Regions from separate parts of the Homo sapiens genome. Here all the other regions are linked to region 1. Evidence: promoter capture Hi-C in human tissues and cell types (Jung and others, 2019). All regions are on one chromosome and are shown on one strand. Each heading gives the region's core, a stretch centred on a gene start or on the middle of the fragment in contact. The rest is flanking DNA. Distances are from core to core; before and after follow the strand shown.

Region 1 (3,259 bases), core at 246-2,745:
GGGGATGAGACCTGGAGCTCAGAACAGACGGGCTGAGCTCCCTGGAGGAGAGAGAACTGAGAACCTTGTCCTGGCAGGGACGCTAGAGCACTGGGTGGGACAGACCTTTCTGGAAGAGCAAGATTTTAACAGGAAGAAAAAGTGGAAGGACTTCCCAGCAGGACCCAGCCTGAACAAAGGTCAGGTGGTGTGGCCCGCGTGGCCCGCTGGGGAATCGGGGGAGGAGGGCACGCAGGAGACACAGGACAGAGCCCACCACGTCTCAGAGCTGTGGGACGGTGGTGGGTCCGGTCCCCACCCCACCTTGCTGGGGCACAGGTTAGCTTGCCCATCTCTGGGTTCACGGTCCCTGCCAGGAGTTTGGGTAATGCCTCACACAGGGACCTTCGGGTCCAAGGGCTGTTGGTGCTTGCCCTGCAGTTCCCTCTCCTGCACTGGGCCTGGTGAATGACACTAATTCAGAGACGTACAACACGATCTGGGCATCGCCAGCAAAGTCCAGCCAGCGTTTGATGACAGCCTACCCTCCACAAGCTCAGAGTCTGGTGAGGGAGGCTGTGGCATGAATAAGGGCAAAAACAGAGGGCAGGCCAGGTGCAGTGGCTCACGCCTGTAATCCTAGCACTTTGGGAAGCCCAGGTGGGAAGATCGCCTGAGCCCAGGAGTTCAAGACCAGCGTGGCCAACATGGCCAGACACTGTCTCTATAGATTGGAAAAAAGACAAAGCAGAGGCCAGGCCCCCAGTTCCCCACCTGTGTCAGCCTACCAGGAGGAGAAATCACTCGGCGTTCCCTGAACAGATCAGACCCCGGGTCTTTGCACAAGCTGTGCCCCCGGGCAGCGGCCCTCCCCTGCCTGCAGGATTCGTGCGTGGAGACTGATTTGCTGTCGGCCGGGGCTTCACTCTGGGCTTCTTGGATCCCATCCCCAGCTGCTCACACTCCACATCGGTCCACCTACTATGCTCCCGGCACCCTTAGGGCTGAGGTGTAGGGACTTACTCCATCCCCAGGGAACAGCGTGGGTCCGGAGAGGCGACTCCCAGGAGGGCCCCAGGGAGGTCGCAGCCCGAGCAGCTTTGGACTTTGGCCAGCGCCCCTCTGAAACTCTGCCCCGGCCCCCGCAGGGAGACTGGAGTTGGCCGAGCCCGATTTGGGACGCGTGCGTCGGGGTTGGTGAGGCTGCGGATAGCGCTGGAACCGGGCAGGTGAGAGGCCCGGGACCCAGGGCCGGGCCGGGTGGAGCGCGTGGGGGCGCGGGAGGCAGGGTGCGCCCCCGCCCCTCGGAGACCCCAGGCCGGGCCACGCGGATGCCGGCGGGGGGCGCGCAGAATCGGGGTCGCTGGGGGCAGGCCCCGGGGGACGAGCCTGAGACGGGGTGGGCCGGGGCAGGGGGCGGGCGCAGGCTGGAGACCCCCGCCCAGTCCCCGCGCGGCCGGGGCACGGCGGGAGGGGGCGCCCGCGGCCCTCCCGACGCTCGGGCGGGACAAAGGCCGGAGCCCGGGCCCCTCCCCGGCGGGTGCGGCGGCGGCGGCCCGCGCTCCGACAGTCCGCGCGGCCGGGTCCTGCGCCCGGGGCGACCCCGGCGCCCCGCCCCGCCGCCGCCTGACTTCTCGGCGCCCGAGGTCGCGCGCGCGGAGGCGGGGGCGGCCCGGGATCTCCAAGCGCCGCCGCGCCCTCCTCCCGCCCGCCCTCCGCCCGCCCGCTCGGCGGCGGCGGCGGCGGCGGAGGAGGCGGAGAAGGCTGGCAGGCGGCGGCCGGGAGAGCGAGCGCGGCGGCCGGACCGGGGCCATGGCGCCCGCGCAGCGCCCGCTGCTCCCGCTGCTGCTCCTGCTGTTACCGCTGCCGCCGCCGCCCTTCGCGCGCGCCGAGGACGCCGCCCGCGCCAACTCGGACCGCTACGCCGTCTACTGGAACCGCAGCAACCCCAGGTGAGCGCGGCCGCGCGCGGGGGGCGCCCGGGGACCCCCCAACGCCCCCCAAGCCGCGCCCGGCCTCGCGCCCCCGGAGCTCCGGGCGCCCCCCACGCGCGCGCCGCCGCCGGGATGCGGGCGCCCGGTTCCCGCGGGAGCCCCCCAGGGAGCTCCGGCCCCCCGGAGTTTGGGGGACTCGCCCTTTTCGCGCCTGCCTTCCCCGGGGCGCCCCATTGCCCTACGGACTGTGGGGACTCGCGCCCCACATCCCCCAGAGCGCCGACGTCTCCTGGAGTTTGGGGAACCCCTCTGGTACCCTCCGATGCCGGGTAGCCCCTGAGTTGCCTGCCTGGACTTGGGGGGACCCCTGATCCACCCGCTTCTCTGGGGAGCCCCCTCGGTTTCGCATTTGGTGGGGATCCCCGGGGACCTTGGCACCGGAGGTGGGGGACTGTGGCCCTCGAGGGATCTCTGGGTTCGTCCTGCCCGCAGGTCCCCAGATGAACTTGGGGAAGTTGGAGTGTCCCTCCCTCAGGACCCAGCATCTGCTTCACTCCAGGGGGCCAAGGGCCCAGCTTTGAAAGGAGACTGAGGGGCCGGGGAGCTGGGGGTCAGCCCCGGGAGGGGCAGTGGGATGGAGTCCTCTCTTGTCCTCTGGGCGCTGACCAGGAAACTGAGGTGCAGAGGGGATGAGGAGCTGGCTCAAGGTCATGCAAGGGGGGGACTTGGGGGCAGGACCCAGGTGGCCCAGTGCCCTGCCTGCCACGCCCGGCCGAGATGCCGCACCCGCCTGCTGCAGGCCCCCTTGTTTTGAACCAGGTCCGGGCCAGGCACAACGTGGGGGACAGGAGAAGCCCCCGTTGGTCAGAGCAAAAAAAGTTTGCCGGGGCCTGGCCATGGCCTGGACGTGGGTAGAACCCTCTGAACCATCCCAGGGTCTCCAAGACAGGAGCAGGCTGCAGCTTCCCTGGGGGTCCCGTGGGAGCCGGGGCTTTGGGGGTCCTGGGGCTCGGGAGGGAGTCAGCCCCAGCACTCAGGGTGTCACCGTCTTCCTAAGGCACACGGAGCTGCACATCGGGGGCTGAGGCGGCCCCCCCCCACTCTTCTGCTACTGGTCACTTTCTCTCCGTTTTCCAGCCGCTTCCTGTGCCGACCGAGCCGCCCTCTGGAGCCCGCCACCCCTCCTTGTCCCCTCTGTCTCCTGCTGTCCTCGGTCCCCGGGAGGAAAGTTGCATGAAGGGGTCTCTTTGAGGCGGGCTCGGGGACAAGGGCGGCCCGTGTTCCGCCGTGGGGGTGGGGAACACGCACAGGCCCACCCCCCACCCTGGTCAACGGCCTCGGGTCGG
Region 2 (2,974 bases), core at 335-2,834, 470 kb after region 1:
CAGCCCTATCCCTCCCCAGGACTTGGATCAGGCCACCTCAGGCTGGGGGCCCAGATCATTCAGGCCCCCTCTCTCTCTGGCTGTTGTGGTCAGCATAGACTCACCTCCGGCTCCCAGCTGGGCAGGCTGGAGGGCACCCCCTCCCACACCAGAGAAGGGGAAACTGAGGCACAGAAAGGGCCCTATTCCAGAGCCAACCTAGTCTTGGTTCAGAAAATCGCATCTCCAATGTGTAGCCACGTCTACAGGGGCCAGGAAATCTGGATGCAGGTGCAAAGCTGGGGCCGGGGTTTGCCCAGAAGGTTTGCACCAAAGGGGAAGTGACAGCCTGACTGTGTCCTCCCCTCTTCCTTCAGCTTTGAGCCCTGATGCAACCCTCTGAGATGGGGGTAACTGGGGGCTCCCGCGAACCGACTGCCTGACCCATCCCCTTCCTCTTCTAGAAAGTGCACAAGCGTTACCCCGGGGGTGGGGGGGGCAGAGGCAACGGGGAAGCAGGAAGGGGCTGAGGCTGGTTTTGGACTCTGCACCGTAGCCTCTGGCCTACAAGACAGAGCATCCTCTAGATTCTGGTCTGGCCCCTCCAGATCCGCAGCCCTGACCTTACCCCACTGGCGGGATCTAGTCCCCTGGGGGTCTCTCTGATTATAGGAGCCCTTCCCCCATCTATCCCAGTTCCCAGGGGCCCCTGGGGCTCACCTGTCTCCAGGTGCTGAGAAAAAGGAGACCCCTGCCTCCCCCCACATTGAAGAGAAGCCCCAGGGACAAAGAGGAGTTTGCACCAGCGACGTCTCAGAAGACAGGGGATCCAGCCTCAGCCTCCGTGGGCTGGAGGGTGACAGGGGCTCTTAGTGGTCACCCCCAGGCTCCAGTGCCTCCAGCGGCCGCACTGTAAAAAGGCCCTGCAATTAGAAGGGGCCTTTGGCAACCCCGAGGCCGGGCAGCCCATTGTACAGTTGGGGAAACGGAGGCCCAGGTGCCCACACATGGGCAGAGGCTGACCCCTGGGGCGCACGGAGGCCCTGACCTAGCCTTAGGACCTCCCTTTTCCCCCACTTCCTCCACAAAGAGGTTGTGGGAAGGGGGCTGTGACTCCGTAGGTGTGAGTGGGAGTCGGGGGAAGCTGAGCTTGCAGTGGGGATCTAGCTCCTGGGGGTCTGTAGGGAACGGGGGGGGGGGGGGACACGTACATTACAGGCGACCGTCCAGCCACACTCCCAGAAACTCCCTGGAGATGGACTTGGGGGTGCCAGGCAGAAAGCCACATCTGGGACTCTGGAGAGAATCACACAGAGACGCGAAATCGGAGACTCTGGGTCGAGGCCCCCAGCCCCACCTGGGCAGAGTCTGTCCTCGGACCCCCGCCCGCTGTCCCCCGGGTACGGCCTGCCCCAGCGGGCGCGGGCGGGCGCAGTGGCCAGGGACGCCGAAGCCCCAAGTCTGGCCGACTTCGGCCTGCTTGGTGCTCGAGTGGGGCCGGGGCGGGCGGAGAGCGAGGCTGCGGGAGGCAGCGGTGGCAGGAGCGGGTGGGCGGGGGCGCTGACGTCAGACCCGGGCCCGGGCGCCGGCGGCCGCTCCCCTGCCACATCCTGGTGGCCGCGCTCGCAGCCGGGCCGGGCCGTGCGCCGCGCAGCCTGGCAGCCTCGCGCGCAGCCACCGGGGAGCGGGCGGGAGTCATGCAGCGGCCTTGAGCACTAGGGGCCGGCGCTGAGGAGCGCGCGCGGCGGGAGGGCAGCCGAGCATGGAGCTGAGCCTGGAGAGCCTGGGGGGCCTGCACAGCGTGGCCCACGCGCAGGCGGGCGAGCTGCTGAGCCCGGGCCACGCGCGCTCGGCGGCGGCGCAGCACCGCGGCCTGGTGGCGCCCGGGCGCCCGGGCCTGGTGGCCGGCATGGCGAGCCTGCTGGACGGCGGCGGCGGCGGCGGCGGTGGGGGCGCCGGGGGCGCGGGCGGCGCGGGCAGCGCGGGCGGCGGCGCGGACTTCCGCGGGGAACTGGCGGGCCCGCTGCACCCGGCAATGGGCATGGCCTGCGAGGCGCCGGGCCTGGGCGGCACCTACACGACGCTCACGCCCCTGCAGCACCTGCCGCCGCTCGCGGCCGTGGCCGACAAGTTCCACCAGCACGCGGCGGCCGCGGCCGTGGCCGGGGCGCACGGCGGCCATCCCCACGCGCACCCGCACCCGGCGGCCGCGCCGCCCCCGCCACCCCCGCCGCAGCGTCTGGCGGCCAGCGTGAGCGGCAGCTTCACCCTCATGCGCGACGAGCGGGCGGCGCTCGCCTCCGTGGGCCACCTCTACGGACCCTACGGCAAGGAGCTGCCCGCCATGGGGTCGCCGCTGTCGCCGCTGCCCAACGCGCTGCCGCCCGCGCTGCACGGCGCCCCGCAGCCCCCGCCGCCGCCACCACCCCCGCCGCTGGCCGCCTACGGCCCGCCAGGCCACCTGGCTGGGGACAAGCTGCTGCCGCCCGCCGCCTTCGAGCCGCACGCCGCGCTGCTGGGACGCGCGGAGGACGCACTGGCCCGCGGGCTGCCCGGAGGCGGCGGCGGCACAGGCAGCGGCGGAGCGGGCAGCGGGAGCGCCGCGGGGCTGCTGGCGCCGCTGGGCGGGCTGGCGGCGGCCGGGGCGCACGGGCCGCACGGGGGAGGCGGCGGCCCCGGCGGGAGCGGCGGCGGCCCCAGCGCGGGCGCAGCGGCCGAGGAGATCAACACCAAGGAGGTGGCGCAGCGCATCACGGCGGAGCTGAAGCGCTACAGCATCCCGCAGGCAATCTTCGCGCAGCGGATCCTGTGTCGCTCTCAGGGCACGCTCTCCGACCTGCTGCGCAACCCCAAGCCGTGGAGCAAGCTCAAATCCGGCCGCGAGACCTTCCGCAGGATGTGGAAGTGGCTGCAGGAGCCAGAGTTCCAGCGCATGTCGGCGCTGCGCTTGGCAGGTAGGAGCGTGGCGCGCAGGGCCAGACCCTGGGGGCGCCGG
Region 3 (2,980 bases), core at 121-2,620, 490 kb after region 1:
GTGGTCAGATCAGGTCAAGCCTCTTGGTCACAGAAGTGGCCCAGCAGCACTTTGGGAGGCCGAGACAGGAGGATCGCTTGAGGCCAGGAGTTTGAGACCAGCCTGGGCAACACAGCAAGACCCCACTTCTACAAAAAAAAATAAATAAAGTGGCCCAGGACTCCTGGATCCTTTTCAGATATCTTCGTATCACACACACACACACACACACACACACACACACACACACACACACACCCCTACCTGTTTCCGGACCCCACCCCAAACTTGGCCAGACCCCCACAGAAGGCTCTATCCCCGACCTGCCCGCCGGCCCCTCAGGCCCTCTCCTGCCTCCCCGCATGCCCACTTGGCTGTCACATACCAAAGAGCATGCGTTCTCCATGCAGGGATCAACACCTCCAGCACAATTCCTTCGAGCCTTTGACAATTTTCTCTGAAATACCTCAAAATATTTAATGTATAGTTTATGTGATTAAAAAAAAATCCTTAGCTAGTTTTTGGAATACGTGACTTGAAGCTTTATACCGTTAAATTATAATTTTGCAGACGATGGCATGTCGTTTCTTTGACGAGTTCCGTGGGAGACGCATTGAATGTCAGGGCTGGAGACCAGAGGGAAAGTTAGAGGGAGCGTGATCGCGAGAGAGACTGCGGCAGAAAGGACCAGTGGCGTTTACAGATTTCTTATTTAAATGAGTCCTTTAGGAAAGAAAGGAAGAGAGAGAGAGAGCGAGCGCAAGAGAGAGAGAGAGGGAGAGAGAGGGAGAGGGAGAGAGAGAGGCAGAGGTATACCTTTCTGTTCTCTGGCTTGTTCTGTTTCTTGTTTTCTGGAGTCATGTCTTATAAGAGTATTTATTATTCTCTGTGTTCTGTGTTCAAATGTAATTTAAGAAAAAAAAAGGAAGAAAAATGCAAAAAAAAAAGACAAAATGGAATTTGAGTTGGTGCATGACTAATGTACTCTTTCTTGACGCTAATTGTAATAAAGTGGTCAGGGTGGGGGGCGGGGGGCGTGGCCCGGTTCCGTGTCGCATCTGTGTGTCTGGTGCCTGATCGGTGCTGTTCAGTGGTTTTTCGTTACTGTTTCTTTCCTCCTTTCTAAGGAACTGTGTCCAGCCGGGACAGGTGGACGGGGCCCCAGGTAGAGGGGGCGGGAACAGAGCCTCAGTAGCCGGGTCTCCTCCACCTGCCTGTCCATCTCCACCCGAGATGCCACCTGCCTGCCCCAGCCAGGCGGGAGCCACCGAGCGTCCCCCCCTCAGTTCCTGGTTCTTGGGGGCACTCTGGTGTCATCGATATCTTAGACCCCCCCAACCCCCCATCACCCGGTTGCTTTCACTCTAGCATGAATTCCCAAGTGTCTTGTTCAGAGGAGACAGACAATCAGCCTATTCTTGTCTTGTTGCCCAGGGTGGTGGGGGACGGGAGTGTGCCCCAACTTCCTGAGATCTGAAGGACCCTCCTGAGGGCCCCAACAGCAGGCACCAGCACCCCCTCCCCCCCCACCTCCACCCAGACAGCCTCGGCCTCCCTCCCTGGGCTGGGCATGAGTCCGCCTTTCTGTCCAGCCCGGGAGGCAGGGGGTGTACGCCTGCAGAGACCCCTCCCTCCCAGCCCACTTTCGGAGCCTACAGAACAGAGGACTCCCCAAAATCATCAAAGGGGGCTCTGGGACAATGTCCTCTGCCTCTGACTCCTCTTGTGCCATGAGGCCACGTCCCTGAGCCATCCCCAGATAGTCCCTGGAGGTGGAAAGGGGCACAGATGTGCCAGCTTGGGAACAGAGGCTGGAGGAGAGGGCGGCAGGGGAGAGATGAGAGGGGCCGCTTTTGGGACAGGCCCCAGTAGGGGGGGGCGGGGTAGCTAAACGGGGTGCTTCTCACCCCATAAAGCAGCAAGCCCTGGTCTGGAGGGCTGGGCCTGGGGCTGAGGGCTCAGCTGACCTCAAATCTGAAATGATGCCGGGGCCAGGATGCTCCTTGCACCAGCAGGAGCTTGGGCCATTTCACATTCTCTGCCCCAAGCGGTTTAAGCAAAATCAGGCCAGTAGACTCCTGGGGCTCCTCCTCGTGGCCCTGTCAGACCACGCAGGGGCTGGTTTTGGTGGAATGAGCTCAGCCGGGGGTGACGGAAGAGCCAGGAGGCCCTGCGGCCTTGAGTGTTTTGAATAGACTGGAACTGAGGGCTGCTTTCAGGGGAGACACCACTTGGACCCTCCAAAGTCCCCTCCCCTCCAGGGACAGGGGAGAGAAGCCCTTTTCCACCTTCACCCTTGGGCGACAGGCTTAAAAGCTAAAAAAAAAAAAAAATCTCGTCATTGTTAACCATTGCTGTGCTGGGTTTGTTGATTTGTTTTTCTTCAATAAATTATTTTCTAGTCACTCACCTGGGCGTGTGTGTTAGCTGACGGGTCGGGCACAGATAGGGGGCGGGAATGGAACTCGCCCACCTCGAGGCTGGGGAGGGAGGACCGGAGTGCAGGGAAGACGGACTTTGCTTCCACCCAGCTCGCCCCTCTCTGCTCTGAGTCCCGTCTTCTTCCTGGGCCAGTGGCCAGCTCTGAGCCTCCACAATCCACACAACTCCACCACCCACACAAGTCCACCACCCACAGGGAATGGTAAGAATCAGAAAGAGGCCAGGCGCGGTGGCTCACACCTGTAATCCCAGCACTTTGGGAGGCCAAGGCAGGCGGATCACGAGGTCAGGAGATCAAGACCATCCTGGCTAACACGGTGAAACCCCGTCTCTACTAAAAAATACAAAAAATTAGCCAGGCATGGTGGTGGGCGCCTGTATTCCCAGCTACTCAGGAGGCTGAGGCAGGAGAATGCTGTGAACCCGGAAGGTGGAGCTTGCAGTGAGCCGAGATCGCGCCACTGCACTCCAGCCTGGGCGACAGAGTGAGACTCCGTCTCAAAAAAAAAAAAAAAAAAAGAATCAGAAAGAAAAGCTTGGCGCCTTAGAAGGAAAAGCT
Region 4 (3,136 bases), core at 574-3,073, 320 kb after region 1:
GCCACTGTGCGCGCAGACCCGGAAGCCACTTACAGTAACTTCCGGCGAGGGTTGGACGACCGCGGAGAAGTGGTCCGGAGTGGGCGGCGTTAGGGCGGTGCTTTCTGGCCACGTGGTCTGGCGGCCGATTGTGCTTCTGGGCTCCGCGGGGCTACCTGCCAGTGATTTTGTGCGCCTAGTATGTGCCAGAACGTTATTTACAATGAAGGAAACTGAGGTCCAGCGGGGAAGGGTCTTGCTCAGAGTCACACAGAGGGGAAGAGCTGGGATTGGAGCCCACTTTTGGAGGCGTCAGGCGTTGTTCCTGATTCGCTGTAGGACTTTGGTCGAGCGGCAGTGCTTCCCTGAGCCTCAGCGTTGCCCGTTGCTTGGAGGCCCTGTCGGAAATCTCTTTGCAGGATTCCGTTTGCGAGCCTGGGTTATTCCTCATTCCGGCAGCAGAGGGTGGCCTGGCTCCTTGCTCGGTGAACGTCTCTGGATGCTCTTAGCTGATGACAGGCAGGTCTTTCTGCCTCCTGCTTTCCACCGCACCAGGCTCGCTTGGGCTCGCCTTTCTCCAGTCCCTGCTTCCTCTGCTCTCCCACAACCCGGCGCAGCACCGTACATGCTCACTCAGCTCCCAGCTTCCAGCCTCCCCCCTGCACACCGGGCCGGTGTGGGCAGAAGGAAGAGGGGCATATTCCCAGACACCGCCATTGCACTTTTGTGCCTTTTCCCCCATATTCAAGAGTTGCCTCCCTCAGGAAGCCCTCCTGGACTGCCTGACCCACAGGCACCTTTACAGCATGAACGGAAAGGCCATAGCCTAGACGGGGCACTGGGCGTGATTTGTCTCTCGGGCGCCAGCGTCACTTGCAGGCCTCGTGATAAGGAATGGACACCGTGGGTTCTTCTGCCCAGCCTGGCCTGTCCTCCTGGGGTCAGCCCCTCAGTACACCCCAAGCCTGCAGCTCTCTGGGGACTGCGGGTGCTAACCCATCCCTATCCCTGGTTAAGGACTCAGGGTGGGAGCCGGAAATAGGTTTTGGACACCACAGTCTGGGCACTGTTTTTCTTTCTTTTTTTTTTTGAGACGGAGTCTCGCTCTGTGGCCCAGGCTGGAGTGCAATGACACGATCTCGGCTCACTGCAACCTCCGCTTCCCGGGTTCAAGCTTCTCCTGCCTCAGCCTCCCAAGTAGCTGGGACTACAGGCGTGAGCCACCACACCTGGCTAGTTTTTGTATTTTTAGTAGAGATGGGGTTTGGCCATGTTGGCCAGGCTTGTCTTGAATTCCTGACCTCAAGTGATCCGCCTCCCAAAATGCTGGGATTACAGGTGTAAGCCACCGGGCCCGGCCCTGGGCATTGTTTGTAGAACTTTCCAGTTGGCTTGGGGTTTTTGAGCTTGGGATCAGAGAGCACCTGAATAAGACTCTTCCCATTGGTGGAAACTTAAAAAAGTGGGATGCAGGGGCTGACACAGAGACTATTAAGAGAAAGGACAGGAACACAAGGGCTGCTGGAATGTCAGCCCAGAGTTTCCAGATGCCACAATGTAAGAGTTCACCAGTGGCCGGGCACGGTGGCTCACGCCTATAATCCCAGCACTTTGGGAGGTTGAGGCGGGCAGATCACCTGAGACTGGGAGTTCGAGACCAGCGTGACCAACATGGAGAAACCCCATCTCTACTAAAAATACAAAATTAACCGGACATGGTGACGGATGCCTGTAATTCCAGCTACTCGGGAGGCTGAGGCAGGAAAATTGCTTGAAAACCCGGGAGGCAGAGGTTGCGGTGAGCCGAGATCACGCCATTGCACTGCAGCCTGGGCAACAAGAGTGAAACTCCGTCTCAAAACAAACAGACAAAAAAAAGAGTTCATCAGAGACAGTGACATAAACAAGAGCTGAGAGATGGAGAGAGATTTGTAATGACACCTGGATCCAGCTGTGCCTGAAGCCATTCAACATGACATAGAACTTCCTTTTTGTTTCTTGAGCCGGTTTTTGTTATTTTGTTGGACCATCTGGATGTCCCCTCCACCCTTTTTTTTTGAAACGGAGTCTTGCTGTCGCCCAGGCTGCAGGCTGGAGTGTAGTGGTATGATCTTGGCTCACTGCAAGCTCCGCCTCCCAGGTTCACGCCATTCTCCTGCCTCAGCCTACCGAGTAGCTGGGACTACAGGTGCCCGCCACCACGCCTGGCTAATTTTTTGTATTTTTAGTAGAGATGGGGTTTCACCGTTAGCCAGGATGGTCTCGATCTCCTGACCTCGTGATCCGCCCGCCTTGGCCTCCCAAAGTGCTGGGATTACAGGCATGAGCCACTGCACCTGGCCCACCCTTTTTTTTTGACAGGTTCTGGCTCTGTTGCCCAGGCTGGAGTGCAGTGGTGCAATCACAGTTCACTGCCACCTCAAGCGATCCTCCCACCTGAACCTCCTAAGTAGCTGGGACTACAAGTGTGTGTCACCAGGTACAACCAATTTAATTTTGATTTTTTGAGACAGTCTCGCTCTGTCGCCCAGGCTAGAGTGCAGTGGTGCAATCTCAGCTCACTGCAATCCCTGCCTCCTGGGTTCAAGCTATTCTCCTGCCTCAGCCTCCCAAATAGCTGGGATTACAGGCTTGCGCCACCATGCCCGGCTAATTTTTGTATTTTTAGTAGAGATGGGATTTCGCCATGTTGGCCAGGCCGGTCTCGAACTCCTGACCTCAAGTGATCCACCCGCCACAGCCTCCCAAAGTGCTGGGATGACAGGCGTTAGCCACCGCGCCCGGCCAATGTATATTTTAAAAGTTGTTTTCCAGCATGAATTTAGAGGCCAGCTGGGTAGAGTGGTGGACAGGGCTCCCTCAGCACCTTCTGTCAACTCCTGGCCACTCTCTTTCCCTTAAAAATTATAGACATGGGGTCTCACTATGTTGCCCAGGCTGGACTGGAACTCCTGGCCTCAGGCGATCCTCCCGCCTCAGCCACCTGAAGTGCTGGGATTACAGATATGAGTCACTGTGCTGAGCCTTCTCCTCCCTAAGGCACTTGTGTGCCAAAGGGCTCTCTCCTGGGGGCCACCCCCCGTCAAGTGGCCAGGAAGGCACTCCTTCCACCCCAACCCTGTAGGGGAGCAGGGCAGTCCAGCTGTGTCCTCGCAGA
Region 5 (3,183 bases), core at 407-2,906, 300 kb before region 1:
TCGTTCACACGGCCCTGCACGGCCCGGCCCCGCTCCGTGGTCCTGCCCCAGGGCCTTCGCACGGGCCTGCCCCGCACACGGTTCTCTGGGGGTCGCTGGCTCCCCGCTCAAACGGCCCCTCCTGCCGACCAGGCGGGTCCCCGGGGCCGCCCTCCCTCTGGCCTGGGCTCGGGGTCGGTGGCTCGCGCCTGCCACCTGGCGGCCAGCGGGGCTGCGGCGCCGCACGCTCTGGCACCAGCCTCCTGCCCCGGCCGTGCCCTCCGCCGGGAGCCGCGGACCAGGAGTCGCACCGCCTCCGGGGACCGCACCCCGCATGCAGCCTCCAGCCCCTGCCTCTTGCTGCTCGAGGGCACACGACCCAGGTCAGCTGCAACCCCCGGGCGGAAATCCCGACTTTTAAATGAATGCTCCCTTTTTATCCCTTTTTAAGGGGTTGGCAACTAATTGCACATTTTAAATCATACTGTTTTTAGGCCGGACGTTGTGGCTGAAGCCTGTAATCCCAGCGGTTTAAGAGGCCAAGGCCTAAGCCCAGGTGTTGGAGACCAGCCTGAGCAACACAGTGAGACCCCCCATCTCTACTAGATATATATTTAGTATAAATAAATAATAGATATATGTTTTTCTTTGAGACAGAGTCTCATTCGCCCAGGCTGGAGTGCCTGGGATCTCGGCTCACTGAGACCTCCGCCTCCCGGGTTCAAGCGATTCTCCTGCCTCAGCCTCCCACCACGCCCGGCTTTTTGTACTTTTTGTAAAGACGGGGTTTCGCCATGTTGGCCAGGGTAGTCTCGAACTCCTGATCTCAGGTAATCCACCCACCTCGGCCTCCCAAAGTGCTGGGATTACAGGCCTGAGCCAAAGCGCCCGGCCTTTTTTTTTTTTTGAATGCCGTTTTCAGACATGGTCCGTGACGGGCAGCCGTGACATGAAGTTAGACCCTGCTTGGCTCGGACAGAACTGGCGACTTGTTTGACCTACACCAAGCTATCCGACTAATAATTTAGATGTTGAGGCCCCTAAAGAGGGGTCAAGGGGGAGGCAGATGTCGACCAATAAGGAAACACTGGGCCGGGCGCGGTGGCTCACGCCTGTAATCCCAGCACTTTGGCAGGCCGAGCTGGGAGGATCACTTGAGCTCAGGAGTTCGAGGCCAGCCTGGGCAGGACAGTGAGACCCTGGCTCTACAAAACTAAATAAATAAGGAAGCAGTGAATTCCAATGTATTCATCGCCAACTAGCCATGTTGCTGGGTGTGCGCTCTCTCTTTTAGGCGCAATGTGTCATTTAGGCCTGTGACGTCGGAACTTTATTATTTGAACATTTAAAAATAAATGAATCCAAGAGCTTGAGTCACTTGGCCAAAAATGCCCAGGAGGAAAAGGCCAAGTCAGGTACCCCGGCTCTAGAGCTACTAACTGATCGCCGGAGACCCTGGGCCTTGGAAGAAGTCGCCTCCCCAGATCTCTAAGCAGGCCGCGCGACCCTCGAGTCTCAGGTAAGCGGGAAATCCCACTTCACAAGAAAGCCCCTCTCTCCGAGGCACGGGCGCATGCGCGGGTCGGCCACCCGCTGGGGCCGCGGGGCCGCCGCTCTGGCCCGCGTGGGGCAGTCGTCCGCGTCTCGCTCATGATGACGCACGTCCGGGGCGGTGGGGAAGGCAAGATGGCGGCGCCCATGGAGGTGGCCGTGTGTACGGACTCGGCGGCCCCGATGTGGAGCTGCATCGTGTGGGAACTTCACTCGGGCGCCAACCTGCTCACCTACCGCGGCGGCCAGGCGGGACCCCGCGGCCTGGCGCTGCTCAATGGCGAGTATCTGCTGGCGGCGCAGCTGGGCAAGAATTACATCAGCGCCTGGGAGCTCCAGCGGAAGGTGCGGCGGTGCGGTCTCGCTGCTGGGGTCATGGGGCGCCCGAGGCTGAAGTCGGGGGATGGGTTGGTGGGGGCCGCGTGCACCCTTAGTCGGAATTGGCGTGGGGAGGGGAGGTGGTCTCCGTTCGGGCGCTCTGCGCATGCGCGGGTCTGGGGGCTTTGGGGAGATACGTGCGACCTGTTAGGCCGCTCTGCGCACGCGCGGGGCTCAGGCCTGAGCTGCTATGGGGGCAGTGGGGGAAAATGGGAGACGCTCCGGGGGGTCCCTTGGGGCAATTGCGCATGCACGAGTTCTTGGAGCGCGAAATTTGATTAAAAGGGGCCTATGAGCTCTGTGGATGTTGTGGTTCTGGAGGAAAAGGGAGAAGGACCAAGGTCTGGGGGAGTCTCCCATGAAGGGGTGGCGCAGGAAACTCATGTTTATTCCTCCAATAAAGCAACAGATACTCACCGTCGCCCACAGTTTCCCCTCTACTCCCAAGCCCAAATGCAGCCAGTCCCTGAAGCTACTCGCTTCCCCCGTGTGCCCGCTGAGATCTCTTGGGACTGGCTCTGTGCTCCAGCATTGCCTGATGGAGTCTACACACAACTCATAAATTTCTCCCATTTTATTTTAGTTTTGAGACAGGGTCTCACTCTGTCGCTGAGGCTGGAGTGCAGTGGTGCGATCTCGGCTCACTGCAGCCTCTGCCTCTAGGGTTCAAGCGATTCTCGGGCCTCAGCCTCCTGAGTAGCTGCAACTACAGGCCCGCACCAACCACCACACCCGGCCCACATTTGTATTTTTTGTAGAGGCAGGGTTTCACCATGTTGGCCAGGCTGGTCTCGAACTCCTGACCTCAAGTGATCTGCCCACCTCAGCCTCCCAAAGTGCTGGGATTACAGCCGTGAGCCACCACGCCCGGCTGAGTTTTCCCATTTTAGAGAGGAGGAAGCTGAGGCTTGGGGTCTTAGGTTGGACATTATGGATAGAAGGATTGGGGCACAAGCCTACTGGGCTCTTGGGCCCCAGTGTCCTTCTGGATCCTCTTTGTTCTGTTCCTGTACTCCTCCCACCCAGGGCCCCTCTGACCCTCAGAGGAAGCACCAACCTCACATCTACCACCTCCAGCCTCGAAGCCTCTTGCAGGGGCGAACACTTCCTTGCTGGACCATGCATTTGCTCAAACCACCCTGCTCCCGACTCCTCTTCCTGGTTCTCTGACTTAGCCATTGCCCAGGCGTCCCCTCCCCTCGCCCTCCACTGCTGTAGTAGCTCCCGTGTCCTGCATGGGGCTCACGAGGCTGACTGTGCATCCTTAGGACCAGC
Region 6 (3,363 bases), core at 241-2,740, 440 kb after region 1:
GGTTCCAGCGGCGGGGGGCGAGGGTACGGCTGGGTGGGGGCAGGGGCGGCCAGGACCTTCCTCCCGGACATGCACGGACCCCCTGACCGCCGCCCCGGCCATCTCCCTGGGCGGGCTGCTCTCCATTCCCTAGACAGGAAAATTGAGGCTCACGAGGGCCCGGGGATTACCCAAGGCGCAAAGGGTTTATGAGGTGCAAGGGGCCTGGAGCCCAGAGAGTGTGGCTCGAGGGCTTCAGACTCTCTCTGCCACGCCGTGCTGACATCTGCACCCTCCAAGCAAAGCTAAAACATCTTCCCGCGTTGCTGGGTCCCACACCGTCGCAGCCTGGAACCCACCACCCCATAAGGAGGGACCGTTCCTTAAATTGAAATGCGATGTTGAACAGCCACGAAAAAGGACGAAATCGTGTCCTTTACAGCAACATACGTGCAGCTGGAGGCCATTATCCTAAGCGAATGAAAGCAGAAACAGAAAACCAAGTACCCATGTTCTCGCTTATCAGTGGAGGCTAAACATTGGGTACTCATGGACACGAGGATGGGAATAATAGACCCTGAGGACTTCTAAATCGGGGAAGGTGGGGGACAGGGGCTGAGAAACTCCTGGGTACCATGCTTAGCACCTGGATGACGACGGGATCGGTCATATCCCAAACCTCAGCATCACACCATATACCCATGGAACAAACCCGCATATGTACTCCTGAATCTAAAATTAAAAAGATGAAATTTCAAAATAGTAATAGGAAGGGGCCAGGCGCGGTGGCTCACGCCTGTAATCCCAGCACTTTGGGAGGTCAAGGCAGTGGATTCCTTGAGGTCAGGAGTTCCAGACCAGCCTGGCCGACTTGGAGAAACCCCGTCTCTACTAAAAGTACAAAAATTAGCCGGGCATGGTGGTGAATGCCTGTAGTCCCAGCTACTCGGGAGGCTGAGGCAGGAGAATCGCTTGAACCCAGCAGACGGAGGTTGCAGTGAGCTGAGATCGCACCACTGCACTCCTGCCTGAGCGACAGAGCAAGACTCTGCCTACAAAAATTAATTAAAAATAATAATAATAGGCCAGGTGTGGTGTGGCTCACGCCTGTAATCCCAGCACTTTGGGAGACCGAGACAGGAGTATCGCTTGAGCCTAGCAGTTCCAGACTAGCCTGGACAACAGAGCGAGACCCCATCTCTAAAAAATAATATATATATTTTTTTGAGATGGAGTTTAGCTTTGTCGCCCAGGCTGGAGTGCAGTGGTGCGATCTTGGCTCACTGCAACCTCCACCTCCTGGGTTCAAGCAATTATCCTGCCTCAGCCTCCCAAGTAGCTGGGACTACAGGCACGCACCACCATGTCCCACTAATTTTTGTATTTTTAGTAGAGACGGAGTTTGGCCATATTGGCCAGGCTGGTCTCAAACTCCTGGCCTCAAGTGATCCTCCAACCTCAGCCTCCCAAAGTGCTGGGATTACAGGCGTGAGCCACTGCGCCCAGCCTAAAAAATAATAATAATTTAAAAATAATAAATGCAATGTTGAAATTAAAAGGCTTAGGAACAGTGTGAGATCTTCATGTCCAAACGAAACTCCCATTACACAGAGGCCCTGTGAGGGGAAGCCCCAAGTCAAGGTCACAGACTTGAGAAAAGCTTATGGTTATTTTGAAGGGGATATGGGTAGTGCCCTAAACATTCCAATTTAGTAAAAAAAAAAAAAAAAAAAATCGCAAATCCCCCAACAACCACTTGGGCTCATTCAAATGAACACCTGGACTTTGTCAAAAGAAGAGTTATTGTCAGAATAAAGACGCTGCTTATAAAATGCTAGGGTTCCCTGTGTGGAGCCAAGAAGATTTCTTCTTTCTTTAAGGGTGAAAAACAAGATTGGCTTATTTGACAGATCTGTGCATTTTTTTTTTTTTGAGACGGAGTCTCGTTCTGTTGTCCAGACTAGTGTGCAGTGGTGTGATCTCTGCTCACTGCAACCTCCACCTCCCGTGTACAAGCGATTCTCCTGCCTCAACCTCCTAAGTAGCTGGGATTACGGGCACATGCCACCACACCTGGCTAATTTCTGTATTTTTAGTAGAGACAGGGTTTTGCCATGTTAGTCAGTATGGTCTCGAACTCCTGACCTCATGATCCGCTCACTTTGGCCTCCCAAAGTGCTGGGATTACAGGCATGAGCCACCGCGCCTGGCCGTAAATGTTTTAATATTTAGCACGCATGATGCTTTTGATATACGTGCCATGCCAAGTCCAGGGCTCAGAGATTTGTTTAAAGGTCTCCATTAATCCCACATGTACCCCAAATCGCTGTGGTTTTAGAAAAGAAAACCTTCTGTGCAACTCCGTAACCACCTTAAAGGAAATACAAAAGGAGAAAATCGCTGGCCGTAGCCTTCTCCACCCCCTAAACTCAGCCCTGGCCACTTTGCTCAGGCCTCCCAGCTTCTGTGTCCTGCACGTAAGCCTCGGTCTTCACACAGTCCCTGATATCTGCATTTATTTCATATTTTTCCCATAACGTTCCACCTGACATCTCCATCTCCTTCCTCTGCCGCTGCGTTTCTAATTCCTAACAGCTGAGGAAGGTTGCATTGACCGGCGGATTGTGTGGGGTGATTTTTGAAAGCAGATCCTGGAATTCAATTTTTATTTTAACCTGGTTATTGAGTGGGGAGGGAGAGGGAGGCGGAGGTTGGCCGATTCGTGTGCAAGATGAAAAAGCTGGATTTTCACAAAGGTTGTGCTGTTTGGAAATGGCTGGTTAGGTTTTCAACGTAGGAATGGTTCAACGACAGCCCTACGAGAGTGTGCGCGAGCGTGCGTGGCTCCGTGTGGTTTCGTGTGTGTGTGTGTGTAAGTGAGCTGCAGGGTGTGTGGACAAGTGTGTTGTGTGAATGTGCATGTGTGGGTTCGTGTGTGCTCCTGTGTGTTCCCGTGTGTGCATGTTGTGTTCCTGCATGTACATGTGTGGCTTCGTGTGTGTGCGTGTGTGGTTTTGTGTGTGTGCATGTGTGTGCGCCTGTGCGTGTTCGTGTGTGTTTGTGTGTGTGCATGCGTGTGAGAGGGTGCACTCAGCGGCTGTGCCTTTGTACACGTGTGAATGTGGGTGTGAGTGTGTAAGTGCTTTGTGTGAGCATGTGGGGGGAAGGACGCAGAGGCACGCCAGCGTCTGACTGTGTGTATTGTTAAGAGTGTTGTGGGGTACACGTGTGTATGTGAGCTCGTGAGGGTGTGCAAGGGATACACGCGTGTTGTGTGTATATGTGTATGTGCATGTGTGTGTGCAGGTGTGTACATATTAGTATGTGCAGATCAGTGCATACCTACGTGTGTGTTCCTGTGTGCAGATGTGCGGCCATTTGAGG
Region 7 (3,368 bases), core at 282-2,781, 370 kb before region 1:
CTCGCCCTCCACCAACACGGACCCCAGGGGCGCACCCTGGGTCCCCGGGTCCCTGTGCGGGCCGGGGTGACACACGGCTGACCCCCGCACAGACCGCCCCGCTTCCGGGTCCCCCGGGAAGGACGCGCGGGCTCCTGCTTGCCAGGTTTTAACCCACAAGGGTTGTAGGGATTTACCCAAAGGAGAGCAAGGAGCCGGGTCTGCCCGGAAAGGCAGGGGGCGCGGACAAGCCCAGAGGGCGAGTGGGGCCGGGCGTGCGGCAGGGACCAGGCTGGAGCGCATGGCCACGTGGGTGAACCCCGACCCGCGGACAGGGGCCCAGGACCCTCTGGCGGGAGGCTCCATGGCTGGCACCTCGGGGCCCGGGGAGTGGGGGGGCAGACCCGGGAGTGGGGGCGCGGCCCCGGGGAGGTGGGGGGGGGGGTGGACCAGGGAGTTGGGGGGCGGACTGGGGAGGTGGGGGGACGGACCCGGGAGTGTGGGGGGCGGACCAGGGAGTTGGGGGACTGACCGGGGAGTGGGGGGACAGACCCGGGAGTGGGGGCGCGGCCCCGGGGAGGTGGGGGGGGTGGACCAGGGAGTTGGGGGGCGGACTGGGGAGTGGGGGGACAGACCCGGGAGTCGGGGCGTGGGCCAGGGCAGTGGGGGGGTCGGACAGAGGAGTTGGGGGGCGGGCCCGGGAGTGGGGGCGCGGACCCGGGAGTGGGGGCGAAGACCAGAGAGTAGGGGCACGGACCAGGGAGTTGGGGGGTGGAACCGAGGAGTTGGGGGGCTGACCCGAGGAGTTGCGGGGCGGACCCAGGAATGGGGGCAAGAACCAGGGGAGTGGGGGGGTGGAGCAGGGAGTGGGGGGACGGACCCAGGAGTGGGGGCGTGGATCAGGGCAGTGGGGGGGCGCGGACCCGGGAGTGGGGGGAGTCGGACCCGGGAAGTGGGGGCGCGGACCGGAGAGTGGGGGCACGGACCGAGGAGTTGGGGGGCGGACCCGGAGAGTGAGGGGGTGGACCCGGGAATGGAGGCGCGGACCAGTGCAGTGGGGGGGCGGACCGGGGAGTGGGGCGCGGACCGGGGATTAGGGGGCGGACCGGGGAGTAGGGGGCGGAACAGGTAAATGGGGACGTGGATCCGGGTCCCCTCCCCCAGCGAGCCCCCGGAGCGCCAGGAGGGTGTCCCCGCTGAGTAACAATGAAGACCCCCCACCCAGCCTGGGGGTCCACAGCGGGCGAGAAGGGAAGGCAGGACAGGCTGAAGCCCCGGAAGATGAGCAACGGGAGCGAGGGGAACGAAGGGAACGAGGGGAGGGAAGGGAAAGGAGGGGAGGGGAGGCGGGGAGAGGATCTCAGGGGAGGGAGCCCAGCCCGCCCCCGGCGCCCGCCGCGCCCCGCCCGCCCGCGCTCACAGCAGCCGCCGCCCGCCCGGGGTGCCCTCCGCCGCCTCCGGGCCGCACTCGGGGTTCTCCAGCGCGACCATGGCTCGCACGCTGTCGCCGCCGCCGCCGCCCGGCAGGGCCTTCACCGGGCCGGGCAGGAAGTGACGGGCGCCCGGAGGCGGGCAGGGGCGGGGCCTGGGGCTGCGCGGCGGGGCGGGGGCGCCCACCTCCCGGCTGCCGGGAACGAACGCGGAAACCCAGGCGCGCGGGGAGGGGATCCAGCCCCTGGGGGGACGAACGGGGAAACCGAGGCGCGCGGGGCGGGGATCCAGCCAACAGGGAACGAACGGGGAAACCGAGGCAGGCGGGGCCGGGATCCAGCCATCAGGGAACGAACGGGGAAACCGAGGCAGGCGGGGCCGGGATCCAGCCCCTGGGGGGACGAACGGGGAGACTGAGGCGGGAGGCGGGGCCGGCCACGATCCCTACACCCAGAAATCTAGCTCCGGGAAGGAGGGACACCTAGGCGAGGGGTCGAAAACTCAACCACAACCCTGCGTCCCGATCCGGGCTGCGGACTGAGCCAGGAATCCAGCCCAGGGAGGCGAGGAGACACGGACAGGGAAACTAAGGCCTGAGCATCGACGAGGGAGGGGACGTTCTTCTTGGAGGCAGAGGATGGCGGAAATTAAAACTGCCCGAGCCTTCCTTCCACCTGCCCCTCCCAGCCCTGGAGCCTCGGCTAGGCAACCCCTTCCCCTGCTTAGCCTCAGTTTACTCTTCTCTAAAATTAGGCCTGGTGGCCAACGTGGTGGCTCACGCCTGTAATCCCAGCACTTTGGGAAGCCAAGGCCAGTGGATCACTTGAGTCCAGGTGTCTGAGACTAGCTTGGGCAACATGATGAAAACCCATCTCTAAAATAAAAAGAAAGGGCCGGGCGCGGTGGCTCACACCTGTAATCCCAGCACTTTGGGAGGCCGAGGTGGGCGGATCACGAGGACAGGAGATCGAGACCATCCTGGCTAACACAGTGAAACCCCCTCTCTACTAAAAATACAAAAAATTAGCCGGGCGTGGTGGCGGGGGCCTGTAGTCCCAGCTACTCGGGAGGCTGAGGCAGGAGAATGGCGTGAACCCGGGAGGCGGAGCTTGCAGTGAGCCGAGATCGTGCCACTGCACTCCAGTCTGGGCGAGGAGCGAGACTCCATCTCAAAAAAATAAAATAAAATAAAATAAAGCAAGAGGGAGGCTGGGCACGGTGGCTCGCACCTGTAATACCAGCACTTTGAGAGGCCAAGGCCAGTGGATCACTTGAGGTCAGGAGTTTGAGACCAGCCTGGCCAACATGGCAAAACCCTATCTCTACTAAAACTACAAAAATTAGCCGGGCGTGGTGGTATGCACCCATAGTCCCAGCTACATGGGAGGCTGAGGCACAAGAATCGCTTGAACATGGGAGGCAAAAGTTGCAGGGAGCCGTCCACTTCACTCCAGCCTGGGCCACAGAGTAAGACTACTCTGTCTCAAAAAAAAAAAAAAAAAAAAAAAAAATAGCCAGGCACAGTGGCTCACGCCTGTAATCCCAGCACTCTGGGAGGCCGAGGCGGGTGGATCATGAGGTCAGGAGATTGTGACCATCCTGGCTAACACGGTGAAACCCCATCTCTACCAAAAATACAAAAAATTAGCCGGGCATGGTGGCAGGCGCCTGTAGTTCCTGCTACTCAGGAGGCTGAGGCAGGAGAATGGAGTGAACCCAGGAGGCAGAGCTTGCAGTGAGCCGAGATTGTGCCATTGCACTCCAGCCTGGGCGACAGAGCGAGATGCTGTCTCAAAAAAAAAAAGCAAGAAAGAAAGAAAAAGAAAGAAAGAGTAAGGAGGAAAAAGAAAAGGATGAGAAACTGTGGATGGACTCAAAAAAGCGTGCACTGTGAGATTCCTGTAGATAAATGTGCAAAGAGGTGAAAAAGGACAATGGAGAGATGTATCAGGAGTGAC

Evidence for each region. The method cuts DNA at HindIII sites, captures the fragments that hold promoters and counts their contacts. A contact is called where the count stands out against the background at its distance.
Region 2: the fragment with the promoter of ONECUT3 here is called in contact with the fragment with the promoter of EFNA2 in region 1 in 2 of the 25 tissues and cell types used here (lymphoblastoid cells and small bowel).
Region 3: a fragment that was not itself captured here is called in contact with the fragment with the promoter of EFNA2 in region 1 in 2 of the 25 tissues and cell types used here (aorta and spleen).
Region 4: a contact is called between a fragment that was not itself captured here and the fragment with the promoter of EFNA2 in region 1, in 1 of the 25 tissues and cell types used here (dorsolateral prefrontal cortex).
Region 5: a contact is called between the fragment with the promoter of WDR18 here and the fragment with the promoter of EFNA2 in region 1, in 2 of the 25 tissues and cell types used here (dorsolateral prefrontal cortex and spleen).
Region 6: a fragment that was not itself captured here is called in contact with the fragment with the promoter of EFNA2 in region 1 in 1 of the 25 tissues and cell types used here (aorta).
Region 7: the fragment with the promoter of R3HDM4 here is called in contact with the fragment with the promoter of EFNA2 in region 1 in 3 of the 25 tissues and cell types used here (dorsolateral prefrontal cortex, lymphoblastoid cells and spleen).

Annotation. Positions count from the first base shown.
Region 1 is chr19:1,284,378-1,287,636 of GRCh38, forward strand. It overlaps EFNA2 (ephrin A2), which reads left to right and starts at 1,496. Exons shown (of 4, transcript NM_001405.4): 1 at 1,496-1,931. The coding sequence starts at 1,792. RefSeq lists enhancers at 580-1,080, 1,081-1,581. The HindIII fragment of the contact is 32,397 bases long and covers 1-3,259 here.
Region 2 is chr19:1,751,922-1,754,895 of GRCh38, forward strand. It overlaps ONECUT3 (one cut homeobox 3), which reads left to right and starts at 1,585. Exons shown (of 2, transcript NM_001080488.2): 1 at 1,585-2,933. The coding sequence starts at 1,742. The HindIII fragment of the contact is 24,245 bases long and covers 1-2,974 here.
Region 3 is chr19:1,778,677-1,781,656 of GRCh38, forward strand. It overlaps ONECUT3 (one cut homeobox 3), which reads left to right. Exons shown (of 2, transcript NM_001080488.2): 2 at 1-2,312. Among named protein-coding and RNA genes, the nearest start is that of ONECUT3, 27 kb to the left of the region's middle. The HindIII fragment of the contact is 3,194 bases long and covers 1-2,967 here.
Region 4 is chr19:1,605,535-1,608,670 of GRCh38, forward strand. No RefSeq gene overlaps it. Among named protein-coding and RNA genes, the nearest start is that of UQCR11, 1.6 kb to the left of the region's middle. RefSeq lists a silencer at 1-58 and enhancers at 119-428, 884-1,505, 2,988-3,037, 3,068-3,136. The HindIII fragment of the contact is 3,073 bases long and covers 288-3,136 here.
Region 5 is chr19:982,689-985,871 of GRCh38, forward strand. WDR18 (WD repeat domain 18) reads left to right here and starts at 1,657. Exons shown (of 10, transcript NM_024100.4): 1 at 1,657-1,875; 2 at 3,177-3,183. The coding sequence starts at 1,666. RefSeq lists silencers at 1-312, 1,477-1,566 and enhancers at 1,251-2,192, 1,617-1,766, 1,797-1,976. The HindIII fragment of the contact is 34,067 bases long and covers 1-3,183 here.
Region 6 is chr19:1,726,043-1,729,405 of GRCh38, forward strand. No RefSeq gene overlaps it. Among named protein-coding and RNA genes, the nearest start is that of ONECUT3, 26 kb to the right of the region's middle. The HindIII fragment of the contact is 4,306 bases long and covers 1-3,363 here.
Region 7 is chr19:911,688-915,055 of GRCh38, forward strand. R3HDM4 (R3H domain containing 4) reads right to left here and starts at 1,532. Exons shown (of 8, transcript NM_138774.4): 1 at 1,400-1,532. The coding sequence starts at 1,470. RefSeq lists a silencer at 1,350-1,689. The HindIII fragment of the contact is 36,901 bases long and covers 1-3,368 here.